Regions from separate parts of the Homo sapiens genome. Here all the other regions are linked to region 1. Evidence: promoter capture Hi-C in human tissues and cell types (Jung and others, 2019). All regions are on one chromosome and are shown on one strand. The core of a region is centred on a gene start or on the middle of the fragment in contact, and the rest is flanking DNA. Distances in the headings are between cores, read along the strand shown.

Region 1 (5,138 bases), core at 1,692-4,191:
AAAAATACAAAAAACTAGCCGGGCATGGTGGGGATGCCTGTAATCCTAGCCACTCAGGAGGCTGAGGCAGGAAAATCGCTTGAACCCGGGAGGCGGAGGTTGCAGCGAGCCTAGATCACACCACTGCACACCAGCCCGGGCGATAGTATGAGACAACGTCTCAAAAAAAAAAAAAGGCAAGAAAAAGACAAGATTTTCCTGGCCCTGGTGCACTCTAGGCTCAGTCAAACCAACTGAAGACAGCAGTTTGCTGTCCGTCATCACACTATGTTTTCTAGAAGATTCTATCCTGATGAAGCACCCCCCAGACTGGTTGAAAACCAAAGTTACTCTTCCTTGGAAAATCTTTGTGGACACCCAGGTGGAGATTCAAATTTCCAAGTTGGGGCCAGGCGAAGTGGCTCACGCCTGTAATCCCAACACTTTGGGAGGCCGAGGCAGGCAGATCACCTGAGGCCGGGAGTTCGAGATCAGCCTGGCCAACACGGTGAGACCCTGTCTCTATTAAAATTGCAAAAATTAGCCGGGGGTGGTGGCAGGTGCCTCTAATCCCAGCTACTCGGGAGGCTGAGGGAAGAGAATCGCTTGAACCCGGGTGGCAGAGATTGTAGTGAGCTGAGATCGTCCCATTGCACTCCAGTCTGGGCGACAGAGTGAGACTGTCTCAAAAACAAACAAACCGGAAAACAACAAATAAAACCCAACAACTAAAAAAGGCAAAAAAAAAAAAAAATTACCAACCTCGATGCTGCCACCTTCAGGCCGCTGGGGGTTACAACCTCCGCTCCAGCTCCCCTCTGAACCTGTGCTATTCTTCTGAGTCCCATTCACTCCCACAACTGTCTCATTCATTCACTGGTTCACTCAGCTTCCAACCACCCTTACATCACGTCAGGCTCACCAGGTGATGGAGAGAAAAATCATCCTCTGTGGGTCTGAAAAACATGCCTGAGTCTTGATGGTGGGTCTTGTTTTCATTTCCTCCCCATCACAGCGCCCCCAGGGCCATGAAGAGGCCATGGCCTGGGCTCAGAGATCCAGCTCTCCTCAGGGTGGGCCTGGCAGTTGCTGACTTCAGGGAGAGCTGGAGGCCTCACAACTGAAATAGGAGACCTGCCCTGGGTCCTTAGCATGTGCAAGGACAGGGTTCCTTGTAGAATCTGCTCATTTCATCTGTGTTCATAGCATTTGTCATTTTCCACATGCAGACATCCATTCCTAGAAAGCTGAAGAAGCTTGCACAGGAATATTCAGCCACAATATCAGCTGACTTCCATATCTGAATGCATGATCTCTAGATCCCGGCCATTACAATAACATTTGGGCCACTTCTATCCCCATCCTGGGCAGGCCTGAGTCTGTTGGCCAGATGCCTGCAGCAGGGGTGAGTCAGGAGGGCCCAGGTGTGCACAAAAGCCCCTCCTCCTGTCCTGCTTGGGGCTCTCCTGCCAGCCTCCTTCTACCTTCCTCCTGTTCCCCCAGTCACTGGCCCAGGTCACCTGGCCTCGGGGTGGTGCTGCCAGGGCCTTCCCAGAGGCCTCCTCCCAGGACTAACCTGGGCTCCTGCCCCCAGCCCTGTACATGGGAGGCTCTTCTCACACACAGATCCTGGGACCCGCCAAGCTCTGCCCCTCCCAAATCTGAGAACTGCCCACCCTTGTGTGTCTGTTGTCCTCCAAACTACCCTCCACATGGCCCCTCCTGCACAGGGGCTCTAGTGCATCAGGCCAGAATCTTCTAGGCTCCTGTGTCCCTGCTCAGTCACAGAGGTGGCTGCCCTCCCATGACTCTGTCCTGAAGCAGAAACAGGCCCTGGGCTTTGTCCAGGCCTCCTCCTCTTTCCCACAGCCTCAGGACCCTCGGGATTGATGATCACCAGGTGCAGGTGATCCCAACATGAAGACTGTACGGAGTGGGAGGTCTGTGCCGATTTTTCTCATTCAATAGGGAATGGGCTGAGTGGCTGGGGCCTGAGTGGCACTCAAGATCTCTGTCCACTCCTCATCCCAGGCTAAAGCCCTCCCTTGCGGCCAAGGGCCACTGGGCCCATCACCTCCCTCTGGCTTCTGCCCACAGATCTAGATGTTTCCATGGTGACTGAGACGAGGATACACTCGGGTTGCCGCTTTGAGGATGGCTGCAGTCACCATCCAGGGACAGGGCAGAGATGCGCGTGCAGCCATGGATTTGCGTGTAGCTGGCCACAGATGGGTGTACAGCAAAGTGAGCCCCACGCATGCGTAGACCCTCCCTCGGCTTCTGCTCTCCATGGAAACACAATTGATCATTTGATCACTGATCACGGTAGGCCACTAGGGCTTTCTTTTCTTTCTTTTTTTTCCCAGAAGTCATAAAGGGATATAGAATATACTTTATTCTATATATATTCTATATATTCCTCATGCTTTTAGTGGAGAGGCAAAGAAGGTCTGCTCCGGACTGGGAAGCAGCTGCGCCCTGGACGGAGAGGGGCGGGGACTCCTTGGCGCAGGCTGAAGGAGGGCAGGTGTCGCTGGCGGAGGCAGTGACGGGGGGACACAGCCGCCACTGGATATCCCTGTGCAAGTTTCTTCGCTTTCCTGTGCATCAGTGCTTACATTGGGGTAATAATAAATGGTGTGTTAAAAAATTAAATGAGGCGGTCAAGAAGGAATCGTGTCCTGGCCCGCGCGGAGCCTGGGGTGGAGGGTAAGGGTTGGCCAGAGGGGGCCGCTGTCAGGCCACGAGCCCGGGGCGGGACGAAGCGGAGCCACAGCAGGCATAGGCTCCCCGGGTCCCAGCCTGGGGTGGGGCGGGGAAGGGCGGGACGGGGCGGGATAGGGCGGAGCATCCCTCCAAACGTGGGCAGGCGTAGGCTCCCCTGGATCCCGGGGCGGGACGGGACCGGACGGGGCCGAGCACACTCAATCACTAGCTGGCATGCGAGGGCCGAAGTGATTCATACGCTGGTCTCCACATCGACTGCGCCTTGTGTCCCGGGCGCTCCTGGTCTACAATGGCAGCGGCCGCCAGCCCCGCGATCCTTCCGCGCCTCGCGATTCTTCCGTACCTGCTATTCGACTGGTCCGGGACGGGGCGGGCCGGTGAGTTCGGGGATGGAGCCTAAGCGGGGCGGGGGCCAAACCTGGGGGGCTGTGGACTGCAGCGGGTTTCAGAGGAGGGAAGCCTTCTAGAAGGACCGGCGCGATCTCCCCGGACTGCCCCCACGCTCAGTTCCGATTCGCTGCTCTTTTTCGCCAGGTCCGCTTCCTGCGGCTGCTGCTTGCCCTGCAGAGCAGGAGGGGGGTCAAAGAAGGCGAAAAAAGAACCGCAGGAGGGTGGAGGGGCCAAAAAGCTGCAGAGGGCGAGGTGGGGAGGGGATCCCTGGTGCAACCCCGCAGCCCCACTCGTCCTCGGGAAGGAGAAACCAGAGCCCCCGGAACCCGAGCTGGGGTCAAGACATGGGTGACGCCAGCGTCATATAGAATAGTCACTAAGCAGACAGGAGTCAGCAAACCCTTTCTAGAAAGGAAAGGCTGAAGGCACTTTGGTCCTTGCTGGCCGTGAGTTCTCTGTCTCTGTGTCAAGTCCCGTCCCTTTGTAGAGCAACAGCAGGCAATGGCAACCTGCAAGTAAAAGAGAAACCTGAAATGGACCCTGTCCTAGGTTGCAGACTCCAGATGAGGGCACATGCTGTGTCCTGGCAATTGCTGCCCCATCCCCTAGGGTGTCATCTCTAAGTTGTGTAAGTTGAAGAGTCACAAGTGTGTCCTACCCTGCCTGTGGCTTCTGGGAGGTGTGGATGTGATGAATGTGAGGGGGAGTCCCATGGTTCGGGGCCTACTGCTCCCCTCCTTTGTTGCTGAGTAGCATTAACGGTCCCCAGGGGCCATTCAGGGACCCTCCCTGAAGCCTCAGGTGTGACCTGAGGGTGGGGGGGTGTAGCCATGTGGTGTCCTGGGGATCAGAGCCAACTGCTTGTGCAGCTTCTTGGTTCCCTGTGGCCCTGCTCCTGCCCATCCCAGGAGACCCACCTGTGTCTTCTCACTGTGGGGCCTATCTTCCTAATGACCTAAAGGGTGAGGAGCACACCCTGTGATGGGCAGCTCTGAGGCTGTGTGGTCACTGCCCTCCCATAGCTGGAGGCCCATCTCCACAGGGGCCCAGGACCACAGCAGGAGCCACTTTTAAATGAGGGGATTTCACTGCTGTGAGTGGCACAGCTTTGCTTCTGAGCACTAGGGGACCCTGTTGGATTCTGTGGTTGGGAATAGCCATGAAATCCACATAGCACCTTTTCCAACCACACATGCTTCTGGGATCTTAGGGAGTCCAGGGTCAAATAGCTGTAGTGGCAGGTCCAGCCACACCCCTCATCACAGAGTGTGTATGGCTGCATCCCAGCTATAAGAGCAGAGTTGAGTAGTGACAGGGGAGGTCATATGACCAGCACAAACTATAATAGTTACTACATTAACTACAAACACTATCCATTCCCGGTAGAAATCCAGGAAATGTGAAATTACCATTGAATGGGTCTATGAACCCAGCACATCCCTCTAAGCTGGACCTGACACAGAAGTCCATCTGTTACTTTGCCCCAAATGCACCTCATGAGTAACAGGGGAGCAAGTTAATGCTTCACATCCCTGGGAAGAGCTCGGATCACACACTGTGTCCACTAGGAGTGTCTGAGTATTTGCTGTTTCATGGTGTACAGTTACCAGAGTGACTACCCATCTGGCTCTGTGGGGGAGGCTGAAGGAGTCATTGCAATTGCTGTGGGGTTGAAGGAGCCCACCAGGGGCTCTGGGCTCTCCTTCTAGTAATGGACTCTGCGTCTGAGATGTGGCTCAGTTCTCAAAGCTGGGCGAGGGAGCTCAGTTATTTCCCGGGGTGACAACTTTCAGCCTCCTGGTCATCCATCCTTGCATTTTGTCTTTGTGGTAATTATTTAAATCTAGTAGTATCCGGGTGGAGTCTCCATCTCTTTTGGATCTTGGACCCTTTTGTTCTATGAGCCATGGGCATAGCTTTGTAAGACTGAGGACCCCAGCTAGCATTGTGACTTCTCTAATTATTTCCATCATTGCACCCTCCTTCCTGCTGACAGTTGACGGCCTCCACTTGAGATCTCTTATTTCAGGATTTTCCATCCC
Region 2 (5,138 bases), core at 1,433-3,932, 800 kb before region 1:
TGTGCGACAGAGTGAGATTCCGTCTCAAAAAAAAAAAAAAAAAATTAATAGCCACCATTTGTTGAGGGACTTGTCTTGTATGTGACAGTCCTGGGCTATGTATTTTGCATGTGTCCTCTCACATAATTGTTTCCATAACCCCTTGAGGTAAGTACTGTTACTCCTCCCATTTTCCTGAAGGAATTGAGTTTGGAGAACCCAGTGCAGGCCCTAAAGCCCCCTACTAACCTCTTTACTCATCTCTAAGGCAGTCATGGCTTTAAACCTAAAAGTATGCATGAATAGCCCAGGCGCGGTGGGTCACGCCTGTAATCCCAACACTTTGGGAGGCCAAGGCAGTCGGATCACCTGAGGTCAGGAGTTCAAGACCAGCCTGGCCAACATGGTGAGACATCCTGTCTTTACTCAAAATACAAAAATTAGCCGGGCGTGGTGGCGTGCTCCTGTAATCCCAGCTACTCGGGAGGCTGAGGCAGGGGAATCGCCTGAACCTGGGAGGCAGAGGTTGCAGGGAGCCAAGATCGTGCCATTGCACTCCAGCCTGAGTGACAGAGCAAGACTCCGTCTCAAAAAAAAAAAAAAAAAAAAAGAATATGTATGAATAAAACCCACAGATGACCCCAAATCTTGAAGCATTCCTTCTGTAACCATTTCACAAGTGCTTATTACATGCTGGGCACTCTCTCCAGGACCTAGGATATAGCACCGAAGAGACGGCTGTCTCATGAAGCTCATATTCCAGGTGGGTGAGACAGACAAGAAATGAGCAAAGAAGGAAGTTTCAGGTAATAATCAGTTTACCTAGAAAATAAAACAGCATGACGGGAGAAGTTTTTTTGCCGCCTATCCTGGCTTCAGACTCTAACCGGTAAGATGAGTCTCAGCAACGTGCAGGTTAAAACCTAATGACCTGACGTGTAATTAATCCCAGCGCTTTTGGGGGCAGGGATGATGGCTTGCGCCCAGGAGTTCCAGACCAGCCTGGTAACAGAGTGGTGCTCTGTCTCTATGAAAATAAAATAAAATAATCCGGGCATGGTAGCGCACACCTGTGGTCCCAGTTACACTGGAGGCTAAGGCGGGAGAATCGCTTGAGCCCAGGAGGCGGAGGCTGCATTGAGCCGAGATGGCACCACTGAACTCCAGCCTGAGCAACAAAGCGAGACTCCATTTCTAAAAGAAAAAGAAGACAGAGAACAAGAAAAACTAAATAAATGGCCCCTTAAAATCATCCGCCACATAATAAAGAGCCTAGGAAACGTATTTTACTGAGATGGGAGAAGGGGAGTGGGGAGGAAAATGGGAGAGCAGAGGGAGGAAGGAAAGGCAGAGAGAAAGGCAAGCAGGCAATGACTAAGAAAGAAGGCTAGAAGGAAAGGGAAGAGGATGTGAATGGAGGAGGTGGTCCGCTGGCCGGGGAAACCGCATCCTGGAACTCGTTCCTAATCCCAGTTCCGAGGGAGGCGGAAGGGGCTTTCTTGCCACCCCCAAGTTGTCCCGAAGGGCTCGCCCTGCAAGGCCCGAGACCCGTGCGCCCCTCTGGGCGAGGGCGGGGAAGGCTGGAGCCCAGGGGCGGGGACCGGGACGGGAAAGGCCGGGCCCGGGGCTCCCAGTTCGCTCTGGGCCCGCAGAAAACCCTGCAAACCCAGCTGCGCGGGGACTCCGTGGGCGCTGCGCGGCGAAGCTGGAAACCAGCGCTGAGACCTCTCGGATTCCCCCCGGCGGCTGTCCCGGGGGCCCGGCTCCACCTTTGCCGTTCCGGGAAAAGCGGACGTCAGCCACAGACCCCAGCCCAGCAGGAGGGGCCGCGCGCGGGGAAGGGCGCACAACACCAGGGAGCTTCGCGCGGGCGGCGCTGGGCCCGAGCCCGCCTCTCCCGAGCTCCGCTTGCCCTTCCCGAACCCCGGGCCAGCCGGCGCGCCGAGCCGCAGCCCCGCCCTCCTCCTGCTCCTCGCCCCCTCCCCTGGTTTCCGCCCCAGCCGCACCGCCCCTTTACCGTCTGGGTCGCGCCCGGCGCGATTGCATCAGAGCCGGCGGCCGGCTGCGCACGTGGAGCCGGGCGTGCGGTCCATGCCGCTAGGCGCCCATTGGAGATGCCCACGCCCACCTGCGCTGCGGGCCCGGTCGGGTACTGGATCCCCCGTTCTCCGCCAGCGCTCCCGGCCGCAGTGCCCAAGCCCGCGTTTCCCGACACACCGCCCGGCCCCCCTAATGAGTTGGCACCAAACACTCGCAGCCCCGCGCCCCGCTCCCCACGGCGGTCCCGGGCGCTCCGCCCCTGGGTCGGGGCCACAGCCGCTGGAGACCTGGGCCAGGGCCAGACCCGACACTCACCTGACGATGGAGTCCCGCGCCGCGGGCGTTCGGCCGCCGGGGCTGCAGCTGCTCCGGGCCTGGCCATCCTGCGGCCGCCGCTGTCCAAGCAGGCCCTCCCGGCCACCGCCGCCGCCTCCGCCGCCGCCGCTGCTAGCGCGACAGGGCACACGGAGGCGGCGCGGAGGGCCCGGGGGCTGGGGCGGGCGGCGGAGCTGGCGCAGGACGAGCGGCAGACGCGTGCCCATGGCGCGGGACGGCTGGTTCTCAGGGGACACGGAGCTGCGGCTGCCGAGGGCGGCGGGGCGCGTGCCAGGGGAGCAGGCGGCGGCGGCGGCGGCGGCGGCGGGAAGGACCTGGCGCTTCCTCCTCGTCCCAGGGGCCCCTAGGGGGCACTGCACCCGGCGGCCGTGACGTGCGGAGGGCGGGGGCCTGCGAGCCGCCGGCCGGGATGTCACGGCTTTGGGCACTTTGGTTTGGTAAGCTGTACCAGACAGAGGGTGGGGTGCGGAGTGGGACTCAGACTCTGCCCTGAGACTCAGCCTCCCTCCCTTCAGCCTGAAAGGCCGAGGTGACCCTTGGTACTCAGGGCGCCAAGTTTAGACGGGAGGGCTTGGATTTGCTGTACTGGAGGTGGCCTGAGGATAAGAGGCTTTGTAACCTTAGGCAGGGGCACTTAATCTCGGTGAGCTTGCGGGGTCTTCGTCAGTACCACAGAGATAACAATGCTCTTCTTAAAACCTTAAAAGGATTTTATAGTCCTGATTGGTTCCAGGGCCCCTCCAGGGGACCCACGTCCACAAATGCTCAAGTCCTTGGTAAAAAAAAAAAAAAAAAAAAGTGTTTGCATATCACCTACACACATCTTCCCATCATAAACTTTAGGTCATCTCCACATTCCCTAAGTCCTCACCTAACATCGTGGAGGGGTTCTTGGAAACTGAAACTTTAAGCCAAATGACTGTAAGGAAAACAGTTTGACCACAGGCTAATTGATATGAGTGAAGTTCCTACAACATATCTGTGGTCACAAAATCGCCCCTAAACTTCGAAATAAAGACCAAAACACTTCTAATATTAAACATTGAAATAAGTGTGAGCCATGCATATATTTAAGGAAGATTTTTAGCTCACGCCTATAATCCCAACACTTTGGGAGGCTGAGGTGGGCAGATCACGTGAGGCCAGAAGTTCAAGACCAGCTTGGCCAACATGGCGAAACCCCATCTCTACTAAAAATACAGAAAATTGGCTGGGTGTGGTGGCGCGTGCCTGTATTCTCAGCTACTCGGGAGGCTGAGGCAGGAGAATCGCTTGAACCCAGGAGCCAGAGGTTGCAGTGAGCCGAGATCATGTCACTGTACTCTAGCCTGGGCGACAGAGCACAGCTCTGTCTCAAAGAAAAAGTTTTTTTTAAACACCCCCTATCCCTCTCGCTTAGAGAAAAATAAAGATTAATAAAAGTGAGATCATTTTTACCGGCTTATTCCAACTCAGGGCACCTCACAGGGTGTGCTCACACACACCCACACTCACACTCGGATCGTGTAGATGCACCAATTTACCTAAAGTGCACTGCACGGCTTTGGGATGTGACAGGACACCAGAAGACAGAGAAAATCCACACAGACATGGATAAAACGTGACAGTGGACCCAGCCAGAAATCTATTTTTTTCTCATCATTATAAGAAAACCACTGAGCAAAATGATGAAATGATGTTATTCCAGGACCTGCTGTACTTATAATACCTAATACAATGTAAATGCTATGTAAATAGATATTACACTGTACTTTTTTATTTCTATGATTTTTTATTATTTTTTGTTATTGTAATTTTTTCAAATACTTTCAGTCCCAGGTTGATTGAGGATACAGAGGGCTGACCATAAGTTCCAAGTAAAGTGGATATCAGATTGTAATTTTATGATTCCCAAGTGAGGGTCAGATTGTTAACTTTATATTTTTACAACCTTATACCCTTATAATTCCCAGATAAGGTGGGAATAAAACTAGTCCAAGTTACAGAGATTGGTTTTCCATTAGCCGAGCACCATACTGGGACAGTGCTGGAAGGACCCTTCATACAATCCTAACAAAAGTAGGGAATTGAGAGCTATTGTCTTGACCTTCAACCTTTGGAAACTGGGGTCCAGAGAGGCCCATCTGTTTACTGGCAGAGCTGGGAGATTGAGGCTGCAATGAGCTGTGAGCGTGTCACTGCACTCCAACCTGGGCAACAGAGTGAGACCCTGTCTCAAAAAAAAAAAAAAAAAAAAAAAAAGGCTTCCTGAAGAAAGTGAAAGAGGTGGCAGCTGGAGGCAAGACCTTAGCAGTTGAGCTAAGGGAAGGTCAGCTAAGGGAAGGAAATGAGCTAAGGGAAGGTCAGTGTTGGAAAAGTGGGAATGTTGGAAATGAAGGAACAACATGAGCAAAAGTCTGGAGTAGAAGAGAGCATGATGAATTTGAGATACTGAGAGCTGTTCAGTCGAGTGGGGAGGGCAGGGGAAAATGAGTAGCAATGGCAAGTAAGAAGAGCTGGGCAGGGCCACGTTGTGGCAGGTCACGAAACCATTGCATTGCATTTTTTTTTTTTTTTTGAGATGGAATCTAGCTTTATTGCCCAGGCTGGAGTGCAGTGGCGCAATCTTGTCTCACTGCAGCCTCCACTCCCAGGTTCAAGCAATTCTCCTGCCTCAGCCTCCCAAGTAGCAGGGATTACAGCCAACCACCATGCCTGGCTAATTTTGTGTTTTTGGCAGAGACAGGGTTTCGCCATCTTGGCCAAGCTGCTCTCAAATTCCTGACCTCAGGTGATTTGCCCTC
Region 3 (5,138 bases), core at 1,588-4,087, 710 kb before region 1:
TACACCTGTAATCCCAGCACTTTGGGAGGCCGAGGCAGGTGGATCACCTGAGGTCAGGAGTTCGAGACCAGCCTGACCAACAGGGTGACACCCCTTCTCTATTAAAAAATACAAAAATTAGCTGGGCGTGGTGGCGCATGCTTGTAATCCTAGCTACTCAGGAGGCTGAGGCAGGAGAATTGCTTGAACCCGGGAGGAAGAGGTTGCAGTGAGCTGAGATAGTGCCACTGCACTCCAGCCTGGGTGACAGAGTGAGACTCTGTCTCAGAAAAAACAAACAAACAAACAAAAAACCCCCTGCTTTTGGAGTAATCTCTAAACAGAACATCAGAATCATCTATTTCAGAAAAATTGGATTCATCAAATGAATCTTCGGCCAACAAGCATTCAAGAACGACGTTAACATCATGCGTAGGAATGCTATGTTTTCTAAGATTTGACATTTTCAGCAATTGAGAATTACTATATTTTGTAAATGGAAATACCACTACTAAAAACAGAATGCTATAAAGAGAATGATGTCTTTTGTTTTTAAAGTCGATATACTAGAGTGATGTGAAAATAATAATAAAAGTGAGATATGTCATGGTAAAGTTATCTCGGGGTAAATGCTACACCTGTGAGAGCCACTGTCCAGTATTCTCACGGAAAAAAGGAAGAGTTTAAGGAGAGTCGAAATCACATCATTCTGACCTGAATACCAGATGAGGTAAGAGAAAAGGTCTGAGGAAATGAAAGCCAGAGGGCCAGGTGCAGTGGCTCACGCCTGTAATCCCAACACTTTGGGAGGCCGACGTGGGCAGATCATGAGGTCAGGAGTTCAAGACCAGCCTGGCCAATATGGTGAAACCCTGTCTCTACTAAAAATACAAAAATTAGCCAGGTGTGGTGCTACTCGGGAGGTCGAGGCGGAAGAATCACTTGAACCCATGAGGTGGAGGTTGCAGTGAGCTGAGATCATGCCACTGCACTCCAGCCTGGGCAACAGAGCAAGACTCTGTCTCAAAAAAAAAAAAAAAATTAAAGAAAAGGAAAATAATAGCCAGAGAGAAACATTTCTGGGCCAGTGTTTTCCATTAGTAGAGGATGGGGTGCTCTGGATGTATTGTGTCCTGGTCTTTCAGTATAGGCCCTCTCTCTGAGCAGAGAAGAACTGTGAGCGGACTCCATCATGTTATTTCTTTCTTTTTTTTTTGAGACGGAGTCTCGCTCTGTCACCCAGGCTGGTGTGCAGTAGTGTGATCTCGGCTCACTGCAACCTCCACCTTCTGGGTTCAAGCAATTCTCCCTCAGCCTCCTGAGTAGCTGGGACTACAGGCACGTGTCACCATGCCTGACTAATTTTTTGTATTTTTAGTAGAGACAGGGTTTCACTGTGTTAGCCAGGATGGTCTTGATCTCCTGATCTCATGATCTGCCAGCCTCGGCCTCCCAAAGTGCTGGGAATACGGGCGTGAGCCACCACGCCCGGCCTTGTTATTTCTCATAGCACAACAGAAACACTTCTTGGCAGGCCAGGCATGGTGGCTCATGCCTGTAATCTTAGCACTTTAGGAGGCCGAGGCGGGCGGATCACCTGAGGTCAGGAGTTTGAGACCAACCTGACTAACATGGTGAAACCCTGTCTCCACTAAAAATACATAAATTAGCTGAGTGTGGTGGCAGGTGCCTGTAAGCCCAGCTACTCGGGAGACTGAGGCAGGAGAATCACGTGAACCCAAGAGGCAGAAGTTGCAGAGAGCTGAGATCGCGCCATTGCACTCCAGCCTAGGCGACAGAACGAGACTCTGTCTCAAAAAAAAAAAAAAAAAAACTTCTTGACAATATTTAACCCCCTGTGTTTTAAATTGTATGTTCGGATTGCCTCCAAGCTTTAGTTTCATCTCACGAGTGGACTTCCTGGTAGGAGGAAGTGTCTCGGGGACCCAGCCAGGCTCCAGGTGTACCTCATCTGTGAATGAATGCCTGGCACTCAAGAACCACAGAGCTGGGAGGGCACTCAGATACCTTCAGTTCCGATCCCTAATTTTAAGGTGAGGAAACCATGGCTTATTAAAGGATGTAGCTTACCTTAGGTCACACTGCCAATAATGCATGGCCACAGTCATGGTTAGATTCAGGCCTTCTGAATCCCAGTCCTGCACTCTCTTAGAAACACATCTATTGAAAGATTTGTTTGCTGTTCCACTCAAAGCTGAGGGCCAGACTCCACACTGTCATATCTTCAACATGGTACTGCCTACTAGACAAGTCTTGTTTGAGTTACCTGGTCAGCTTTCCTTTACAACCTTTTTCTAGAACAGGATAAACACAATAAAAATGGTACTAGTAAAGAGAAAGTAATGGCATTTCTCTCATCCTCTTGTCACTGGGGCTATCATCCCCATGAAGCTGTTCCTATCCACTTTGTCTGCTTGCTATTCAATAAGCAATTGCTAAAAGACTGGATGTCAGGCAAGAAGGTTACAGGGGTAAAGAAGGTGGACAAAGGCCCTGTCCCATGTGTTTATGATCTGACCAGGGGTGAAAAGTACTAATAAGTGTGAATAAACAACATAATATCACATTGTATTATGTGATATGAAGGAAATAGAGGGTAGTACGATAGAGAGCAACTGAGGCTGGGCGAGGGTGAAAGAAGGTTGGGACAGTCAGGGAAGGTTCTCTGAGGAGGTGATATTTGAGTGCAGGAAGTCTTGGAAGAGAAAGTCATTTAAGAATGTGATTGCAGGCTGGGTACAGTGGCTCATGCCTATAATACCAACACTTTGGGAGGCTGAGGCGGGCGGATCACCTGAGGCCAGGAGTTTGAGACCAACCTGGCCAACATGGTGAAGCCCCCTCTCTACTAAAAATACAAAAATTAGCCAGGCGTGATGGTGAGCGCCTGTAATTCCAGCTACTTGGGAGGTTGAGGAGGGAGGATTGCTTAAACCTGGGAGGCGGAGGATACACTGAGCCTAGATTGCATTACTGTACTCCAGCCTGGACAACAGAGTGAGACTCCGTCTCAAAAAAAAGAATGGAATTGCAAACCAGGATAGAATGAGCTTGGTGGGTTCTCCTGTGAGGTATACAAAGGAAGCCACAGTGGCTGGAATTTGGTGGGCAACAGAGAGTGTGGTGGGATAGAGGAAGACATCTCGCTATAAAAGATATGCAAACACGCAAAGTACAATGGGAGCACAGTCGGGGCCTGGAATGCAGTGCATCAGCCACTGAAGACACTCCTAAATACCAGACACGGGATGATTCTACAGTTACAGCCTCGGGGGTGGAGACTACGGATTTCTCATTGAATCAGTGTAACTAACGTGCAACAGCACATGTGCACCAGGATTGCATCAGTGTGGCTGATGTGCAACCGCACATGTGCACCAGGATTGCATCAGTGTGAGTAGTGTGCAACCACACGTGCACCAGGATTGCATCAGTGTAATGTGCAACCGCACATGTGCACCAGGACTGCATCAGTGTGAGTAATGTGCAACTGCACATGTGCACCAGGATTGCATCAGTGTGAGTAATGTGCAACCACACATGTGCACCAGGATTGCATCAGTGTGGCTGATGTGCAACCGCACATGTACACCAGGATTGCATCAGTGTGAGTAATGTGCAACCGCACATGTGCACCAGGATTGCATCAGTGTGAGTAATGTGCAACTGCACATGTGCACCAGGATTGCATCAGTGTGGCTGATGTGCAACCGCACATGTGCACCAGGATTGCATCAGTGTGAGTAATGTGCAACCACACATGTGCACCAGGATTGCATCAGTGTAATGTGCAACCGCACATGTGCACCAGGACTGCATCAGTGTGAGTAATGTGCAACTGCACATGTGCACCAGGATTGCATCAGTGTGGCTGATGTGCAACCGCACATGTGCACCAGGATTGCATTAGTGTTGAGTAATGTGCAACCACACATGTGCACCAGGATTGCATCAGTGTGGCTGATGTGCAACCGCACATGTACGCCAGGATTGCATCAGTGTGAGTAATGTGCAACTGCACATGTGCACCAGGATTGCATCAGTGTGACTGATGTGCAACCGCACATGTGCACCAGGATTGCATCAGTGTAATGTGCAACTGCACATGTGCACCAGGACTGCATCAGTGTGAGTAATGTGCAACTGCACATGTGCACCAGGATTGCCTCAGTGTGGCTGATGTGCAGCCGCACATGTGCACCAGGATTGCATCAGTGTGGCTGATGTGAAACCGCACATGTGCACCAGGATTGCATCAGTGTGAGTAATGTGCAACCACACATGTGCACCAGGATTGCATCAGTGTGGCTGATGTGCAACCGCACATGTACGCCAGGATTGCAACAGTGTGAGTAATGTGCAACCGCACATGTGCACCAGGATTGCATCAGTGTGAGTAATGTGCAACTGCACATGTGCACCAGGATTGCATCAGTGTGGCTGATGTGCAACCGCACATGTACGCCAGGATTGCATCAGTGTGAGTAATGTGCAACCACACGTGCACCAGGATTGCATCAGTGTAATGTGCAACCGCACATGTGCACCAGGACTGCATCAGTGTGAGTAATGTGCAACTGCACATGTGCACCAGGATTGCATCAGTGTGAGTAATGTGCAACCACACATGTGCACCAGGATTGCATCAGTGTGGCTGATGTGCAACTGCACATGTACGCCAGGATTGCATCAGTGTGAGTAATGTGCAACTGCACATGTGCACCAGGATTGCATCAGTGTGAGTAATGTGCAACTGCACATGTGCACCAGGATTGCATCAGTGTGGCTGATGTGCAACCGCACATGTACACTAGGAGTAAGAAATAACTCACAGATTGTGTTTTGTATTCTAAGCTAAATTAGAGTCATCTTGCCTTCAGGATTTGGATCTTTTCTCGTTTCCTTGAGTATTTTAAATATTTTCTTCTTTTTGAGTAGGACGGTTAAAACAATTATAAAATTTCCTACTTGAGCTCAGGTCCCTTAGTTGGGTGGGAAATGAGAGGAAACACTGTTCTCTTTTACAGAACATATCCCATGTGAAGCTTTTCTGACCCCTGATGCGAACTTTGAGGCAGGAATTGTATTATGACCTTGAACCTTCTATTGCTTTACACTGAGAGAGATTCGAGGATGCG

The links. Contacts are between HindIII fragments. The study calls those that stand out against the background at their distance.
Region 2: the fragment with the promoter of MTHFD1L here is called in contact with the fragment with the promoter of ULBP3 in region 1 in 1 of the 25 tissues and cell types used here (adrenal gland).
Region 3: a fragment that was not itself captured here is called in contact with the fragment with the promoter of ULBP3 in region 1 in 1 of the 25 tissues and cell types used here (H1 embryonic stem cells).

Annotation. Positions count from the first base shown.
Region 1 is chr6:150,066,924-150,072,061 of GRCh38, reverse strand. ULBP3 (UL16 binding protein 3) reads left to right here and starts at 2,941. Exons shown (of 5, transcript NM_024518.3): 1 at 2,941-3,083. The coding sequence starts at 2,996. It overlaps LOC124901428 (a long non-coding RNA gene), which reads left to right and starts at 1,789. Exons shown (of 2, transcript XR_007059809.1): 1 at 1,789-2,304; 2 at 2,412-2,634. RefSeq lists enhancers at 1,052-1,919, 3,117-3,196, 3,217-3,266. The HindIII fragment of the contact is 17,553 bases long and covers 1-5,138 here.
Region 2 is chr6:150,863,246-150,868,383 of GRCh38, reverse strand. MTHFD1L (methylenetetrahydrofolate dehydrogenase (NADP+ dependent) 1 like) reads right to left here and starts at 2,682. Exons shown (of 28, transcript NM_015440.5): 1 at 2,335-2,682. The coding sequence starts at 2,561. RefSeq lists silencers at 1,511-1,660, 1,781-1,980, 2,141-2,550, 2,611-2,840. The HindIII fragment of the contact is 14,014 bases long and covers 1-5,138 here.
Region 3 is chr6:150,776,020-150,781,157 of GRCh38, reverse strand. The region is part of intron 4 of PLEKHG1 (pleckstrin homology and RhoGEF domain containing G1); the gene reads right to left. Among named protein-coding and RNA genes, the nearest start is that of MTHFD1L, 87 kb to the left of the region's middle. The HindIII fragment of the contact is 6,386 bases long and covers 1-5,138 here.